Linked DNA regions of Homo sapiens: regions 2 and 3 are each linked to region 1. The links are contacts of gene promoters, found by promoter capture Hi-C in human tissues and cell types (Jung and others, 2019). All regions are on one chromosome and are shown on one strand. The core of a region is centred on a gene start or on the middle of the fragment in contact, and the rest is flanking DNA. Distances in the headings are between cores, read along the strand shown.

Region 1 (3,849 bases), core at 1,261-3,760:
TTTTTAAAGAAAAGAGGCTGGGTTTAGTGGCTTATGCCTGTAATTACAGCACTTTAGGAGGCTGAGACGGGCAGATCACCTGAGGTCAGGAGCTCGAGACCAGCCTGGCCAACATGGCGAAATCCTGTCTCTACTAAAAATACAAAAATTAGCCAGGCATCATGGCACACGCCTGTAATCCCAGCTACTCAGGAGGCTGAGGCAGGAGAATCGTGTGAGCCCAGGAGGCAGAGGTTGTAGTGAGCCAAGATCCTGCCACTGCACTCTGGCCTGGGCAACAGAGAGAGACTCCGTCTGAAAAAAAAAAAAAAAAGAAAAAAAAAGAGAAAAAGAAAAGAAAAAAAAAGGTAAGAAAAGAAAAGAAAATCCTGGCAAACTAGTGGGTCTCTGAGTGGCCAGTTTCACTGCATGCCTGTATCGCATGTGAGTTTGTAGCCGTGGATTCACTGCAGTTTTAGAAAGAAGGGCAAGCATTTGACAGCTTCATGTACCATGAATATTAACACATTCACACACACCATGTTATTACTAAATAATTTCCCTTATGATTCATCTGCAGTAAAATCAGGATATTATCTCGACATCAAATGTTATTGTGTATAGGTAGGTTTTGTTTTATATGAGTTTCATTGCAGGATAGTAACAAAATATTTATTACAAGGACGATGGAATCGGCTCCAGCTGACCGTCTGTGCTTTGAAATGAAATCTGAACTCCTTAATCAGCCCTCAGACTTGCCATAACCAGCCTGGCTGTTGTAGAGGCTCTGTCCCCTCCTCCCACCAATGCCAGCCAAAGGGATCTATTTGTATGTCCCAGAATGTGTCAGCACTCTCTTGTCCCTTGTCTTGGGACAGGCTGTTCTCTCCCTGAAATGCCCTCATCCTCTCCCTTCACTGTCTCAACAAATTCAGTGCTCCCTAGCCTCCATTCTCAAGTCCTTCCTTCACAACCTGTGCCATAGCTGTGCTGCACCAGCGGCCTCGCTTTTCTTTAAATAACTCATTTTCCATAAATAAATTGATTTTTCAAAGAAAAGTTGATATCATAATCATAAATAGGAAACCAGTATGAGTAGCCCTGAAAATAAAGTTGCTATAAAAATAAATATAAGAAAAATACAAGTTAATAACTTTTGATAAAATTGTCAGCAGACCCTCTGAGGCTAACTGAGGGGAAGGGATGGGAAGGCAGATTAAGAAGTGTTAGCAACCTGTTAACACCCTTGACATATTCAGAGGCTTGAAAGAAAATGGGAAGAATAACTTTCTCTTTCGGTGTAATTTAATGCTGTCTCTGTTCTCCCTAAAATCACCTGCATTTTACTGCAACCACCCATTTATCACTCAACGGCGCTAGATGCTGCCAGTAAACCAATGGACCAGATAAGCACAGCCTCTGCCCCTACAGACTCTCAGTCGGCTGGAGGAAAAACATAAGCAACCTGGGAATGGCTATAAAATGTCATTGCTTAAGAAAATAGTTTGTGGCCGGGCGTGGTGGCTCACGCCTGTAATAGCAACATTTTGGGAGGCCGATGCGGGCGGATCACCTGAGGTCAAGAGTTCGAGACCAGCCTGGTCAAAAGATGAGTTCGAGACTAGACTGGCCACCTCTTCAGTAGAGCTGGTGAAGCCCCGTTTCTACTAAAAATACAAAAATTAACCGGACGTGGTGGCATGCGCCTGTAGTCCCAGCTACTCCTGAGGCTGAGGCACCAGAATCGCTTGAACCTGCCTGGGAGGGGGAGGTTGCAGTGAGCCAAGATCACGCCACTGCACTTCCGCCTGGGCGACAGAGCGACACTCAGTCTCAAAAAAACTAGTTTGTGTTTTGGAGCCTCTCACTTCTCCAGCGTCCCCGATACGCCCGGGGATTGCAGAGAACCCACACCTATTCGTAGATTATGAGAGTAGGAGCAAATTAATGATTTATAGTCTTTTCAAATTTTTTTTTTTAACAGAAAAAGAGTAGGGAGTTGAAAGTAATGCTGTTTTTTTCCAGGCACTCCCGGGGACCCAGCGCGGCGAAGCCCGCCAGGATCGCGGGCGACCTGTGGCAGCTCTGGTTCCCCCGCCCGGGCCCGGCTCGGGTTACGCTCTGGGCGGGGACTCCGCAGCGGCTCCCTAGTTAGGGGGCGCCCCGGTGGGTTCCAGCTTTAGGGGTCGCAGGAGCGGCTCTGGCATCACCTCGGAGCTGACGAAGCGGGAAGAGCCCCGCACCAGTGCTGCCCCTACAGAGCTCTCGGCGGGGGGTGGAGGTGAGGTTACACCTCGTCCCTACCCCCGCCTTCCCCTCCGCCGCAGGGATCCGGGACCCGCCCCCGCGGAGAGGACGGGGGGCTGCGGGGAGGGGCTGTGCGGGGAGCGGGCGGGTTCCGCAGGCCCCTAGGTGGGGCGGGGCCCGAGCCAGAGTCGAGTCCCTGAGGCGGGTGGGGGAAGGAGAGACGGGTGGCGCGACCCTCTGTCCCCGCCTCGGGGCGGAGCCCAGGTCCCAGCCTGCGGAGCGCGAGACACGCCGAAATCCGCCCGAGGCTACCTGTGCGACTCCAGCCGCCCTGCACCGGAATCTGGGGAGACCCGCCCCCCGCCCCACCGGTCTGCGGCCCTCCGCCCCAGCGCAGGTGCAGGTGCGGCTTCTCTGCCCCTTTCACCCCAGGCGCATCCGCCGCGGCGGCCATGGCGCGAGGAGACGCCCCGCGGGACAGGTGAGTGGGCCCGGGTGCGTTGCAAGTGGCCGGGGGCGTTGCAGACCCGCTCCCTGAAGGCGCTCCGAGGCTCAGAGAAGACCGGATCGAACTACAATTCCCATCAGCCGACTCCCTCGGCCGCCGGAACCGGGGTGATCGGGGTTGTAGTCCGCTCCGGAGGGGGTGGCCTGGGAGGCGGGAGGGCCTGCGGAGGCGGGTGCGTCCTCGGGGTGACCTTCCCACCGATCCCCACAGCTACCACCTGGTCGGGATCAGCTTCTTCATCCTGGGGCTGGGCACCCTCCTTCCCTGGAACTTCTTCATCACCGCCATCCCGGTGAGACTCCTGGCGGCGTGGCAGCCTCGTGGCCACAGCCAGCACCCCTCCCTCCAGCCCTTTGGATGAAGCTTAGCGGGCGCTTCCTCACCGCGCACCTGTGACCCCTCGTTGAGCTCATTATGGGCTGAAGCTCGGAGAGGGGAATGCTTCCCCCGTGGCTAGGAAAGTAGAACTTCAGCAATGCCCACATCTCAGAGGGGCAAGGCCACCAGCCCACAGGGTCTGGAATGAGCAAAGGCGCTGCCACCCCTCTCTGTGTGTCGTTATTCCTGAGTCAGTCACCCCAAAAGTCGGTTATCGAACGTTTGATTTTCTTTGAAATACCATGAATTTCATTCATTCACTCATTCATTCAACAAACTTTTTTTTTTTTTTTTTTTTTGAGACAGAGTCTGGCTCTTTCGCCCAGGCTGGAGTGCAGTGGCGCCATCTCGGCTCACTGCAAGCTCCGCCTCCCGGGTTCACGCCATTCTCCTGCCTCACCCTCCCGAGTAGCTGGGACTACAGGCGCCCGCCGCCACGCGCGGCTATTTTTTTTTGTATTTTTAGTAGAGACGGGGTTTCACCGTGTTAGCCAGGATGGTCTCGATCTCCTGACCTCGTGATCCTCCCGCCTCGGCCTCCCAAAGTGCTGGGATTACAGGCGTGAGCCACCGTGCCCAGCCTCATTCAACAAACTTTTAATGTGCATCTACTGTGGAGCAGGCACTGGGGACACAGGAGGAAACAGCAGGGAGGCTCTTCAGGGAAGGCAGAAATGTGGGGTTTGCATTGTCTTTGGGACCGGGTTATTCATCTGTATTCACTGCAACAACTTTGC
Region 2 (4,002 bases), core at 72-2,571, 270 kb before region 1:
AAATTCAGAGTGAGGAACTCTGAACTGTGCTCTACTACAAAAAAATAAAAAATAAAAAAGGCCCAGTAACTCAGAAAGCCTTCAAAGAAAAGGGTTTCTGCACTGATAAGCACAAAAGCCGTAGGGGCTCCAAATAAAAGGTGAGTGGCTTTTCTCCAGGAGACATTTGCCTAAGGTAAAGCCCCTAAGTCCCATGCATTCTACATCATAAGAAGTCCATCACCCACACTTATTTCTTCATCACCAGCCAGCCAACAGCTGTTATCTTTACCAAACCTCTCCTTTTACTTATCCAACCATTTTCTGCACACAGCCTTGTGTTCAGCCCTCTACCCAAAGAGGGTGGTTCACCTTGAAACTCTGTGTTATCAAGGCCCCTGATGGCCTCCACTGCATCCTCTGCCCGCTCCATGTGTACGAAGGCATAATCTTTCACGATGTCACATTCGATGACCGGACCATACTCCTCAAACTTGGCTCGAAGCTCCTTATTGGTGCAGGTGGGACTGATGTTGCCCACATGCAACTTTGTTGAGGTTTTGCTCTTATTCTTGCTGGCTTCCACGTTGATGTTCACCCCATGAAGCTTGTAATGGTGCAGGTTGCGTATGGCATCCTCAGCTGCCGTCTTGTCTTCTATGTGCACAAAGCCGTAATTCTTAATGATGTCACATTCCAGCACCTTCCCATACTGCTCGAAGAGTGAGCGAATCTCCTGCTCTGTAGCCTCCCGGGGCAGGTTTCCGATGAACAGCTTCACCATCCTGACAAGAGCCTGGGAGAGAAAAACAAGACATCTGACAAAAGACCTCAGGCCCACATCCGTTCACAAAAGACAACGACTTTCACTCTAATGTATATTTCCAGTTTTCTCTCTCACACGCCTGCACACACACCTCCACACAATAATCAAATGGAAGTGGGAGTGAACTAAGGCCTGCTATAGTAGCCGCCATGAACCTGTAAGAATAAGAAGACGTCTGCAATAGGGAGGTCCTTAGTAGACAAAGGGTTTGGTAAGAACCGATACCTTCCAACAGAAATGGGCATGAAAGACAGCATATGAAGAAATGGGGGTACTAGGCTTTTCTATCCACTAGGAGGACAACAGAAAACAAAAGTCTACTAGGCTTGCTGACTGCCTGCCTGAAATTATCAACAGGCTTTTCCTCACGTAGGAACCAAAGCAGCCATCATTTCCGGGAAAATGGGCCTTGTAATAGCTACATTTGAGTTTCCTTTGGAAGTAATGAACGCGCGACTCGGATCAGACAGCGAGGAGTGGGAGATAAAGGAAATACTGGAGTGGTGAACGCCTCTCTCGGGGCACCGTCCTAGCTCCTGCCGAACACTGAAATGCGCGGCCGCGGAAAAGAGCTTCAGATTCATTAACCAGACGATGTCTCACGGCCCGAGAAATTCCCGAAACGAGAATGTAACTGTCAGATATAAGGGAAAGGGGGTTATCCCAGTGGAAATCTCGAGGCTCCAAGAGCAGCCATGTCGGGCGCGGGACAGGGTGGGCGAAAAAAAGCAAGGTATTCTCAGGGGGCGGTGGGGGAAGGGCTGCTCCCGGCTTACCGCGCAATGCCGAGGACCGAGGTCGGCTCTCAGTGACGGGTGTGGAGACTGCGGACCTACCAGGACACCCCCGAAGCCCAAGGGAGTGAGAGAAGATTTAACACAGTACAAGAAAGGCAGTGGAAAGGCTCGGAGTCTCACCCGCACAGAAACCAGCAGGGCCTCCTCCTCGCGGCGCGGACGCTTCTGACAAAACGCTAAAATGGCGGCGGCCGCAGCAGTGCTCTGAGTAGAAGGGGGAGGTGAGCCTACAACCGGATTGGCCACTCAAGAAAGTAAAAGGCCGGCGTTCCCTCAGATCCTCTTCCTGATTGGTTACCACGGACGCCAATTACCTAAGAGGCCGGCAAGAGGTGGAAACGTCTGTAACCTCGGAGCTTTTATGCGAAAGCCAATGGGCACCAACCTCGCGAAGCCGAACTCGCTGATTGGGCAAGAGATCAGCGTGAGGGCGGACCTACAAACGTGGGCTTCGCCGGCGGGGTGCGGCCCGCCATTAGGCGGAGCGAGCTAGAGCCCCGGGGTAGCAGTCTTTAGCTTCATGGCGCCAACTTCGTTAAGCTTCCACATTTCGCCACCTCCACGTGCACAGCCAGACAGTATTCCGCGCTCCATTTTGCCGTTCACTCTAGGTGTCTCCCTCTAACCTCCCAAGCACCACCCCCCCTCGCGGCCAGGACGCTGTGGAAATAGCTTATGCAGGCACATGCCAGGGAAGAAAAACAACGAAGACCCCCCCCAACCCACCACCCACCACTTCAGGAAACCAACCTTCTCCTTGGGCCAGCAGTCCACACTGTAGCCTTGAGAGTCCCGGAGCTCCCCCAAAATCAAACCTCTCACAGGTGGTGAAAGGACCTCTGTAATGGCCTTCCAGAAGTAGGCCCGGCAGGAGGCTGCACTGTCCAGGAGACGCTGAGGACAAGTTCCCTCTGGGAACCAGCCTCCCAGGGTCCGCGATGAAGAAACCTTTCTGAGACCATGGAGATTTAAAGTATACCCCGACCCCACCCTGAGAAAAAACTGGAGCAGCAAAGGTTTTTTTGTTTTATTTTATTGGGCGCCATCAGCCAGAGCTGTTTTAATCCCCTAGAACCGACTTTAGAGGACAGAGCTTAGTCACAACCAGCTGTAAACAAAATACAAAGTAACATTCTCCAGAGGGTCCAGCTGCTGCCTCGTTTTCTCTCATCCTTAGGCTGCTTCATATTCATTAAGCAAGCAACTTTAGTCAAGACCCTTTGCGAAGCAGCTTTTGAAAAGGGTTAAAAGGTGGAGTGCAGGGACTGGATGGAAGAACTTATAACACGAACAAAACAGGCTAAAAGCAGTGCAGAGTTTATGAGGAAAGGGATCATCAGGAGTGAAGATGACACAAGTACCACACACCACCATCCAAAGCAGCTTCTTCACCACCACCCCCGCCCCAAAAAGAGAACGGTTTCATAAAGAGAAAGGTGAAGTCAGAGTTTGGGGGGGAAAAAAAAGAGTGGGTTTTAAAACCCAACACGAGGGCCAGGTGCGGTGGCCCACGCCTGTAATCCCAGCACTTTGGGAGGCCGAGGCGGGCGGATCACCTGAGGTCAGGAGTTCAAGACCAGCCTAGCCAACATGGTGAACGCCATCTCCACTAAAAATACAAAAATTAGCCCAATGTGGTGGCAGGCCCCTGTAATCCCAGCTACTCAGGAGGCTGAGGCAGGAGAATCGCTTGAACCCGGGAGGCAGAGGTTGCAGTGAGGCAAGACAAGAGTGGCCTGGACGACAAGAGTGAAACTAAAAAAAAAAAAAACCCAACATGATTCAGGAATCTGACTGCAGAAAACTGGTCAATAATTTATCCTAGGGTAGAAAAAGCTAAGGAACTAAAAAAAGAAAATATAACATTTACAGATGTGTTGGTCACTAATCTTGTCCACTTCATTGTGGATTCTGATGCACCTCTGAGCCTGTGTAAAGGCCACGGGATCAGTGATGAAGAAAATCAATTTCGTCTCAGCTGCCACGTGCCCTTCAGAGGTGGCCAGCATTAGAAGGTAACGCATATGGTATAGAAATCCTCTCATCTCCTTCAGTTAGATCTCTTGTCTCAACATGTCTGGGGATAAAACTTTCTTCCAAAATACCAAAGTATAACAAGGATCAACTCATTGTAAGTAATAATCTCTCCAGATTGAAGGAGACTGGGAACATAAATCTCAGGATCACAGTTCAAGCCCAGTGTGCGGACATCAAAACTACTAACCACCTCTGCATGCAGCCCAAAACCTAATTACTTGATTTGACCTCTGAAACCCAACTAGGTCTAGTTAGCTATGTAACACTTTACAAGCTCATCCTGAATGAACCGCATTAAATAATCTCCCTGCCTTTTTTTGAGACAGTTCTTGCAGTGTCACCCAGAGTGGAGTACAGTGGCAC
Region 3 (3,814 bases), core at 319-2,818, 410 kb before region 1:
AGAATAGGACAAGAAAAACATCAAAAAACCATGAACAAAATTCCCTAAAATTTCATGAAAAATATTAAGGTGTGAAAAGCTCAGCAAACCCCAAGGAGGATAAATGCAAAGAAAATCACACCTAGGTATATAATAGTCAAAATGATAAAAACCAAAGATAAAGATAAAATATTGAAAGAAGCCAGAGGAAAAGCACACATCATATACACAGGAGGTATAAAATGAATCACAGCTGACTTCTTACCATAAACAATAAAGGCCAGGTCCACGCGCGGTGGCTCATGCCTATAATCCCAGCACTTTGGGAGGCCAAAGTAGGTGGATCGCTTGAGGCCAGGAGTTCATGACCAGCCTGGTCAACATGGAAAAACCCTGTCTCTACTAAAAATCAAAAAATTAGCCAGGTGTGGTGGCACATGTCTGTAATCCCAGTGCTACTCAGGAGGCTGAAGCACAAGAATCACTTGAACCCAGGAGGCAGAGGTTGCAGTGAGCCAAGATCACGCCACTGCACTCCGGCCTGGGTGAGAGAGTGAGACTCTGTCTCCAAAAAAATAAAATAAAATAAATAAATAAAAACAATAAAGCGCAGAAGACAATTGACAACATCTTTCAAAATGTTGAAAAGGAGAAAACTATCAAGCCAGATATTCCAGTGCAATATCCTTTAAAAATGAGGTTAAGGTAAAGGCATTTTAAGATAGAAGATGAAATAATCTGCTGCTAGAAGATTTGCTAAAGGATTTTCTTCAGGCTGAAGATGGAAACCCAGCTATAAAGGAAGAAATGAAGAGCACCAGAAATCATAAATAAGTGAATATAAAAGACTATTTTTTTCCTTGAATTTTTCTTGACAGCTAGCTTTTCAGAGCAAAAATAATCTCATAAGGCAGGGAATTATAAGTATTTGAGTATTTAAAAATACTCAAAATTGAGCAAAAAAACACTATTTACCTATTCTTTTGCCAATACCACAGTTTCTTTTTTTTTTATGAAAGTTTTAGGGTACATGTGCACAACGTGCAGGTTTGTTACATATGTATACATGTGCCATGTTGGTGTGTTGCACCCAGTAACTCGCCATTTAACATTAGGTATATCTCCTAATGCTATCCCTCCCCCTCCCCCCACCCCACAACAGGCCCTGGTGTGTGATGTTCCCCTTCCTGTGTCCATGTGTTCTCATTGTTCAATTCCCACCTATGAGTGAGAACATGCGGTGTTTGGTTTTTTGTCCTTGTAAAAGTATGCTGAGAATGATGGTTTCCAGCTTCATCCATGTCCCTACAAACGACATGAACTCATCATTTTTTATGGCTGCATAGTATTCCATGGTATATGTGCCACATTTTCTTAATCCAGTCTATCATTGTTGGACATTTGGGTTGGTTCCAAGTCTTTGCTATTGTGAATAGTGCCGCAGTAAACATACATGTGCGTGTGTCTTTATAGCAGCATGATTTATAATCCTTTGGGTATATACCCAGTAATGGGATGGCGGGGTCAAATGGTATTTCTAGTTCTAGATCTCCGAGGAATCACCACACTGACTTCCACAATGGTTGAACTAGTTTACAGTCCCACCAACAGTGTAAAAGTGTTCCTATTTCTCCACATCCTCTCCAGCACCTGTTGTTTCTTGACTTTTTAATGATCGCCATTCTAACTGGTGTGAGATGGTATCTCATTGTGGTTTTGATTTGCATTTCTCTGATGGCCAGTGATGATGAGCATTTTTTCACGTGTTTTTTTTGGCTGCATAAATGTCTTCTTTTGAGAAGTGTCTGTTCATATCCTTCACCCACTTTTTGATGGGGTTGTTTTTTTCTTGTAAATTTGTTGGAGTTCACTGTAGATTCTGGGTATTAGCCCTTTGTCAGATGAGTAGGTTGCAAAAATTTTCTCCCATTCTGTAGGTTGCCTGTTCACTCTGATGGTTGTTTCTTTTGCTGTGCAGAAGCTCTTTAGTTTAATTAGATCCCATTTGTCAATTTTGGCTTTTGTCGCCATTGCTTTTGGTGTTTTAGACATGAAGTCCTTGCCCATGCCTATGTCCTGAATGGTATTGCCTAGGTTTTCTTCTAGAGTTTTTATGGTTTTAGGTCTAACATGTAAATCTTTAATCCATCTTGAATTAATTTTTGTATAAGGTGTAAGGAAGGGATCCAGTTTCAGCTTTCTACAAATGGCTAGCTAGTTTTCCCAGCACCATTTATTAAATAGGGAATCCTTTCCCCATTGCTTGTTTTTGTCAGGTCTGTCAAAGATCAGATAGTTGTAGATATGCGTCATTATTTCTAAGGGCTCTTTTCTGTTCCATTGGTCTATATCTCTGTTTTGGTACCAGTATCATGCTGTTTTGGTTACTGTAGCCTTGTAGAATAGTTTGAAGTCAGGTAGCGTGATGCCTCCAGCTTTGTTCTTTTGGCTTAAGATTGACTTGGCAATGCGGGTTCTTTTTTGGTTCCATATGAACTTTAAAGTAGTTTTTTCCAATTCTGTGAAGAAAGTCATTGGTAGCTTGATGGGGATGGCATTGAATCTATTAATTACCTTGGGCTAACTACTGTAGCTTTATAAGTCTTGAAGTCAGGTAGTGCCAGTCCCCTGACTTTACTCTTCAATATGGCGTTGGCTATTCTGGGTTTTTCTTTCCATATAAATTTTATATTTTATTTTTGGAGACAGTCTCACTTTGTTGCCCGGGCTAGAGTGCAGTGCTGTGATCGCAGCTCACTGTAGCCTTGACCTCTTGGGCTCAAAAGATCCCCCTGAGTAGCTGGGATAGATGACCTATCTTTCCATAGCCAACTGAGCATCTTGAAACAATGGCATTTTAACAATGAAACTGAAATTCAGGGATTTGTACATCATGGTGTCAAGCTAATGACTTAATTCATCCTAAATTTCATCCTAGAAGTTTGTCCCTAAAGACATGGAGAAGGCTGGGTGCAGTGGCTCAAGTCTGTAATCCCAGCAATTTGGGAGGCTGAGGCAGGAGAATCACTTGAGCCCAGGAGTTTGAGACTGTCTCTTAAAAAAAAAAAAAAAGAAAGAAAAGAAAAAGACACAAAGTTCAGAAAACAGAAAATAGAGGTGGTAAACACTTATTAAAAGGTTCAGAGAAATATAATTAAAACTTTTAACCATCTCATTAACTTGTAAATTAGCTTAAATATTTTAAGTAATTGAAATTCCCAATGCTGGCAAAGTACGGTGAAGTTGGTAACTTTGCTACAAATGTTAGCATTACAAGACACAACTTTTTTTGGGGGGATGGAGTCTTGCTTTGATGCCCAGGTTGGAGTGCAGTGGTGTGATCTTGGCTCACTGCAACCTCCACCTCCCGGATTCAAGTGATTCCCTTGCCTCAGCCTCCCGAGTAGCTGGGACTACAGGCTATTTTTTTGTATTTTTAGTAGAGACGGGGTTTCACCATGTTAGCAGGCTGGTCTTGAACTCCTGACCTCAAGTGATCCACCCATGTCAGCCTCCCAAAGTGCTGGGATCACAGGTATGAGCCACCACGCCTGGCCAACACTTTTTACAAAGCAATTTCAGAGCCATAAAAATGTACACAGACTTTGATCAAGTTAATTCTATCTCATAAAATTAATCCTAAAATTTTCAATATAGTAAAGAGCTATATGCATTAAGATATTCATTCCAGTGATATTAATTAGCACTTATTGAGAACTGTGTATTCAGAATAACCACTGTGCTACATGCATTATACGTATTACTTCACTTAATCCTCAAAACAATTTTATGAGGTAGGTGCTTTCAAAAGATCAAAAACTTGTTCAAGAACACA

What was found. The method cuts DNA at HindIII sites, captures the fragments that hold promoters and counts their contacts. A contact is called where the count stands out against the background at its distance.
Region 2: a contact is called between a fragment that was not itself captured here and the fragment with the promoter of SLC29A2 in region 1, in 3 of the 25 tissues and cell types used here (lymphoblastoid cells, mesendoderm cells and thymus).
Region 3: a contact is called between a fragment that was not itself captured here and the fragment with the promoter of SLC29A2 in region 1, in 1 of the 25 tissues and cell types used here (mesenchymal stem cells).

What each region holds. Positions count from the first base shown.
Region 1 is chr11:66,370,421-66,374,269 of GRCh38, reverse strand. SLC29A2 (solute carrier family 29 member 2) reads left to right here and starts at 2,510. Exons shown (of 12, transcript NM_001532.3): 1 at 2,510-2,707; 2 at 2,945-3,026. The coding sequence starts at 2,679. RefSeq lists a silencer at 2,055-2,814. The HindIII fragment of the contact is 13,916 bases long and covers 1-3,849 here.
Region 2 is chr11:66,636,473-66,640,474 of GRCh38, reverse strand. All of the region lies in intron 1 of RBM14-RBM4 (RBM14-RBM4 readthrough), which reads right to left. RBM4 (RNA binding motif protein 4) reads right to left here and starts at 1,772. Exons shown (of 4, transcript NM_002896.4): 1 at 1,723-1,772; 2 at 352-775. The coding sequence starts at 763. RefSeq lists enhancers at 896-1,607, 1,474-1,843, 1,608-2,321. The HindIII fragment of the contact is 5,623 bases long and covers 1-4,002 here.
Region 3 is chr11:66,777,331-66,781,144 of GRCh38, reverse strand. All of the region lies in intron 2 of TOP6BL (TOP6B like initiator of meiotic double strand breaks), which reads right to left. Among named protein-coding and RNA genes, the nearest start is that of TOP6BL, 34 kb to the right of the region's middle. The HindIII fragment of the contact is 9,245 bases long and covers 1-3,814 here.